Regions from separate parts of the Homo sapiens genome. Here region 2 is linked to region 1. Evidence: promoter capture Hi-C in 16 types of primary human blood cells and fetal thymus (Javierre and others, 2016). All regions are on one chromosome and are shown on one strand. The core of a region is centred on a gene start or on the middle of the fragment in contact, and the rest is flanking DNA. Distances in the headings are between cores, read along the strand shown. Region 1 holds the start of PARVG (parvin gamma). Region 2 holds the start of PNPLA3 (patatin like domain 3, 1-acylglycerol-3-phosphate O-acyltransferase).

Region 1 (3,018 bases), core at 519-3,018:
CTATCCATGCCTTTCTCTTAATTGGGGTTTGGGGGTGCTTGGACTTATCTCCATGTTACTCTTCCAATTCTTAGAGTCCCTCTCTTCCCCTAAACAATGCTCTACACACAAGAGGCTTTGTGAGTTGTGGATTTAGTCTGTTGTAACTCCACACCATACAGGATTAGATTTCGCATCTGATTCTTACATCAGCCCTGCAGCCCCAAGAGATGAGAGATAGCTTTGAGGGCTATCAGAGAACTCCCTGTATTCTGCACATACCTTGAGCTGAGAATGTAAAGCCCTGGGACTGTCCTTTTCTTGCTTTAAACTCTTTGGTGTGATGATAACAAGCTCACCCCACAGTCCTTAGATAACCTGTGCTCGTATTGCGTATGGAAGCCACAACTCTGCCAAAGCCACAATTTAATAGGTACTTCGTTCTGAGTGATGACAGGTAATTATTTTGCCATCACAGGCTACGATCTATTAGAACTCCATTCTCTAACAGTTACTAGGTCCCCACTGCCTTTAAATCAACCAGAACAAGTAACCAATCCCAGTTCCCATCCTGGAGGTCGTGTTGCCTGCAATTGTTTCTGGTAACAAATCCGAAGTTAATTGGGATTCAGTTGCCGATGATTAGAGTCTCTTCAGTTGTTTGGAGGAGAAAGGAATCTAACATAGGAAGCTGTGTGATTCTCAAGCTGTTGGAAGGCTGGAGGCAGCGCCTCCAGCAAGGACTCTTGGAAGAATACTGCAGAGCTGGCTCCTGAAGGAAGCTGCCGAGTCAGGCTGGCCCTAGAAGCATGCTTTCTGGGTTGAATGCTTTAGGTTCACCTCTGCAGATCCACTCCCCACCATTTTCTCTCCTCACATCTATGGGCCGCAGCAGGGGACTTCTTTTCTCTGGCTTCTGGCTGGATGTGGGCAGGGGAGGCCCTGGCAGGAGGGAGGAGAGTGAGGCTTGGTCATTGATTCCTCCAGCTGTGCCCTTCTGCTGGTTCACCATGAGCTGGCTGTGTCCCTCTACCAAAGGCCACAGCTCCTATCCCGAGGCCCCTCTTAGAGCTTCAGTGATTCTGTTCCTGGGCTCTGCCACCCACTCCCTCCTTCACCCTCTAGGTTTTGAAGAAGTAACAGCTCCCCATGTTGCTAGCCTGGGGTGTAGCACTGTCTCTTCTGGGTTCCTTTAACCCTGCCCCAGCTGTCCCTTTATTAAACAGTCTTCAGTTAGCACATGGGAATATACCGTCTCTTTGCTGCTGGGACTGTGACTGCTGCTACATCTATGTGGCTGTGATCCAGAGTCAGAAGCCACCACCAGAACCACTGTGTCCAGAGCTGGGCTGAGCCTGCTACACACGCCCCAGCAAAATAGGTCCTGCACGGTGGCTTCTCTCCCCACCTGTTACAAGCCCCAGTCTAGCACGGGCACTTCAGAATGGCAGGGACTGACTCATGTGCCTCAGTGTCTTCCTCTGTAATATGGGGGTGATGATTGTACCTACCTCACAAGGAAGTTTCCAGTAAAATGAAAGCCCTTAAAATTATGTTTGTTTCATCACCAATGACTCCATAAATATTAGCAACAATACCAGTACTAAGTTTTGTCATTTTTTATTAACTTCTTGTAAACGACCCTACTTTCCTGCTCTCACACACTCCTTACACCTGCATCCCACCTGATTTAGCCACTTTCTGCCTAACCTGTCAGAAAGGGTAGATAGCTTCCCAGTCACCTGTTGCTAGGGAAACTCACCATTTCAGCCCGGATGGTGAAGATTCCAGCTTGAGAGACCAGCTCGGGTCTGAAGTGTTTCTCTATCTACTGTGCTGAGATCTCTCCTTCTCGAACCCTGCTATGCCTTTGCATACGCTGTTTTCTCCACCTGCCACGTTCTCACCCCTTCTTCTTCCACTGCAAACTCCTATGCAGCCGTCAAGGCCCCATTCTCCTCTGGAAAGCCTTCCCGATCCCCTTGGCAACAACCACCACCAATATTTATTCACTGAGCCCACTTTGTGCCAAGCATTGTTCTAGACACGGGTATGTAACCGCGATTGAGAGAGACAGACCACGCACAGCCTGGATTTTATTTTAAGAGCTATTGGGTGCCGTTGGTGGGTTTGAGTGAGTGGGGTCAGGAAGTGACTCACTCCTCCGAGGGCTTGTGGGAGCCTCAGCTCAGGGGCGGGCAGGGGGCGTGGGGAAGTCTGCAGCCGAGAGTCCAGGTAGGAGTCTCCTGCGTGGTCCCGGGAGAGGAAGGGGCCTGGCCCGGGGCGGGGTGTGGAGGTGGGAGGACGGCGGTGCGGGATGGAGGGTGGAGGCCAGGCTGACAGGGTGCTGGTGGTGGGTTGCGGGGGTCGACCCCAGGCTCTGGCCTATGTAGCTGCCATTTTGGAGGTGAACAGCCTGCGGGGAAACTGGCATGGTTTGGGGAAGGCGGGGAGAGGGGGAGAAATGAAAGCATTGAGTTTAAGTGGCCTGCAGAACCCCGGGGGCCCAGGCGGCACGGCGGGCGCTGGGGCTCCGGGCAGAGCTTTCTGGAGGTTTGTGGCAGCTTCACTTTCACGGCATCCACCCCCCTCGGGCCCTGCCGCAGAGAGGAGGAAGCTCCTGCCGGCTGAGCGGGCCTGGAGGAAGTGAGCAGCGGGGCTCCTGCCTCCCGGCCTGGTCCCCGAAGACCCCAGAAGAACCCGGAACTTGCTTCCATTCGGAATCCAGGGACCACCCTTTGCACTCAGTAGGCCTTTGTTTTCCTGCGTGGAAAGCGGTTGGGTGAGTTCTGGCATCGGGGCCACCATACTTGAGTGTTGGGGGTCACGGAGGGAGGGGCCCAGACACCACCTGGGAAGGATCCCAGAGTGCAGTCCCAGCCCAGGCCACCCGGGGAAGGGAGTCGGTAAAGTGGGACCTTGAGTCCCCACGGCCCCTCCGGCTGCCCCTGCTCAGAGGCTGCTCGGCGTCCTCCCTCCCTGTTCTACTGAGGAGTTGCCGCCTCTGAACTTCAGCCAACCCCTCCGTCTCCAGGTGAA
Region 2 (3,074 bases), core at 53-2,552, 260 kb before region 1:
TGTGTCCCCACTAAAGGTCATCTGTTGAAATCCTACACCTTAAGGTGATGATCTTTGGAGGCGGGGGCCTTTGGAAGGTGATTTGATGAGAGGGTGGCACCCTTATGAATGGGATTGGTGCCCTTATCAAAGAGGCCCAGAGGTGAGGATGTGGCAAGATGGCACCTTCTACGAGCCATACCTCTCACCAGGGACCAAATCTGCTGGTATCTTGAACTTGGGCTTTCCAGCCTCCAGAACTGTGAGACAGAGAAATAAGCCAGGCGAAGTGGCTCACCCCTGTAATCCCAGCATTTTGGGAGGCTGAGGTGGGTGATGACTTGAGGTCAGGAGTTCTAGACTAGCCTGGCCAACATGGTGAAACCCCATCTCTACTAAAAATACAAAAAATTAGTCAGGCATGGTGGCGCATGCTTGTAATCCCAGCTACTCGTGAGGCTGAGGCAGGAGAATCCCTTGAACCCGGGAGGAAGAGGCTGCAGTGGGCCAAGATCGTGCCATTGCACTCCAGCCTGGGGGGAAAAAGATAGAAATAAATCTCTTGTTTGTAAGCCCCTCCGCTTTAAGGTGTTTTGTTTTCGCACCTGAACGGACTAAGGGACTAAGGGACCAGGAATCATCCAGGCCTCAGCTTCCCAAAGCACTCCCCACTCCCCAGTTCCTACAGGGCCCCGACCCCAGCCCCAGCACCCGTCATTCACATTTTTTACTTACAAAGGAAACTTTGAAATGGACACTTCCTGTTACTTTCATTCAATGAAAAAAATCCCCAGCACTTGAAGGCAATCATACAGAAAGCCTGCAACAACGCAGAGAGTAGACTCTTCAGGTGGTGGTGCCTGCTTTAGGCTGGCTCTCCCCGGGTCAAAAGGGACGTGATAAAGTGTTAAAGTGATGTTAAGGATCAAGTGGGCACCAACTGCGACTCCCCTCCCACCCCCCGACTTAACAGATGTCAAGGAAAACAGAAGGAAGCCGTTTCTCTCCAGGACATGCAGTGTCTGCTGGAGTTTTGGAAAAATGCTTTCTCTCGAGTCGCTGCGGGGAGCTCCCAGGCTGGACCCCCCCGCACAGGTCCTCCGCCATCGCCCTCCCAGCCCCCGCCCCCAATCCCCCTCCCAGACCCGGTCCCCGCCCCCATCCCCCGCCAGACGTCGTCCCCACCCCCATCCCCCTCCAAGCCCCGCCCGGGAGGGCGTCCTGCCCGCTCATTGGGCCTCCCGCCGGCTCATTTGCATGGTCCGAGGGGGGCGGGGCTGACGTCGCGCTGGGAATGCCCTGGCCGAGACACTGAGGCAGGGTAGAGAGCGCTTGCGGGCGCCGGGCGGAGCTGCTGCGGATCAGGACCCGAGCCGATTCCCGATCCCGACCCAGATCCTAACCCGCGCCCCCGCCCCGCCGCCGCCGCCATGTACGACGCAGAGCGCGGCTGGAGCTTGTCCTTCGCGGGCTGCGGCTTCCTGGGCTTCTACCACGTCGGGGCGACCCGCTGCCTGAGCGAGCACGCCCCGCACCTCCTCCGCGACGCGCGCATGTTGTTCGGCGCTTCGGCCGGGGCGTTGCACTGCGTCGGCGTCCTCTCCGGTATCCCGCTGGGTGCGTCTGGGGACGCTGCCCGGGCTCCACGTGCGGAGTGGGTGCCCCCTAGGCCGGGGAGCGGGGGATCCCCAGGGGTCGCGGGGCCCTGGAGGAGCGGGCATCGGACGCGGACACGGCGGGGTGCATCCCGAGGGCCCCCTCCGAGGCAGATGCTTCCTGCGGGGGCGCTGTTCCTGGGCCCGGGAAGGGGGCGTTGGAACCCCGAGCGGTCCGGGCCGAAGCCTGGGACTCTCGTGCGTCCCCACCCCTACCCCCATCAGGCGCCCGTGCATGAAGGGAGACCCTCACCTCCGGACTGAGAGTCGGAGCGTCTCGGAGCGACGGGGAGTAGGGAGCGGGACCCGGGGCGGAGGGTAGTGCTGGCCCCTGCGGACTCCGGGTCCCCTGTGTCCTCTCGGGAGGGGCTGGACGGGCTGAGCTGCCGAGGGGCCGATTTGCCCTGGGCCGGACAAAGAGTGGGGCTTTGGCCGGTCCCCCACGGTGGGCTCCTTCCCTCTGGGGATTGAGGGACTCAAGACACCCCGCGCCTGCGCTTTTCTTTTCTTTTTTTCTTTTTTTTTTTTTGAGACGGAGTTTCGCTCAGTCGCCCAGGCTGGAGTGCAGTGGCGTGATCTCAACTCACTGCAAGCTCCACCTCCCAGGTTCACGCCATTCTCCTGCCTCAGCCTCCCGAGTAGCTGGGACTACAGGCGCCAGCCACCAAGCCCGGCTAATTTTTTGTATTTTTTAGTAGAGACGGGGTTTCACCGTGTTAGCCAGGATGGTCTCGATCTCCTGACCTCGTGATCTGCCCACCTCGGCCTCCCAGAATGCTGGGGTTACAGGCGTGAGCCACTGCTCCCTGCTGCCTACGCTCTCTGGGTCGCAGCCCAGCCTTCTGGGGGCTGGGTAGCCTCCCAGAAGGGCAACCCTGGGCATCCTCCAGGGCAGGCTAACTGGAGTCTAGTGGGGAGGGGTACCTTGAAAGAGGAAAGTTGTTTCCTCCTCCTCCTCCTCCTCCAGTGTTTGGGACCCTTCCTGGGGGCTGGAGTGCATCCCTGGACACCCCCCAATCCCATCCTCTTCTCTAGTTTCCACTGACCTAGGCCCACCCTCCCCTCTCCGGCTCAGTACTCCTGGAAATGAGATTCCGTACATTTGAATCTTGTCCTAATGAAATATTTGTCCATGTGGGTACCTGTGTGTGTGTGGTGGGGGTGCAGACGGAGGGTTTGTTTCTCACTAGCTGGAACTACTGGGGTGTGGTATGCTTCCTGGGAATTTGTGTGCCACAGTCCTGGAGGCGAGGAGGGGGTTGTGAGCCAGTAGGCAGGGGCTGGGGCAAGTAGCATTGTGAAGCTATTGACACCCAGACGTCCCCAGGCAGGAGATTATGCCCCCATTAGCCCCCTTTTATCTGGGCTTCCTTAACAATGGACTCTTTGCCCTGCCTGCCAGAGCCAGCAGGGAGTGACTGTTCAGTGGTGAGGAAGCGG

What was found. Contacts are between HindIII fragments. The CHiCAGO score rates a contact against its expected background, and 5 or more counts as called.
Region 2: a contact is called between the fragment with the promoter of PNPLA3 here and the fragment with the promoter of PARVG in region 1, in 2 of 17 cell types (monocytes and erythroblasts). The highest score is 7.2, in monocytes.

What each region holds. Positions count from the first base shown.
Region 1 is chr22:44,179,157-44,182,174 of GRCh38, forward strand. PARVG (parvin gamma) reads left to right here and starts at 1,769. Exons shown (of 14, transcript NM_022141.7): 1 at 1,769-2,029; 2 at 2,586-2,761. RefSeq lists silencers at 1,030-1,079, 2,250-2,379 and enhancers at 1,756-2,486, 2,487-3,018. The HindIII fragment of the contact is 15,489 bases long and covers 1-3,018 here.
Region 2 is chr22:43,922,503-43,925,576 of GRCh38, forward strand. It overlaps PNPLA3 (patatin like domain 3, 1-acylglycerol-3-phosphate O-acyltransferase), which reads left to right and starts at 1,303. Exons shown (of 9, transcript NM_025225.3): 1 at 1,303-1,596. The coding sequence starts at 1,410. RefSeq lists enhancers at 1,118-1,862, 1,863-2,605. The HindIII fragment of the contact is 6,907 bases long and covers 1-3,074 here.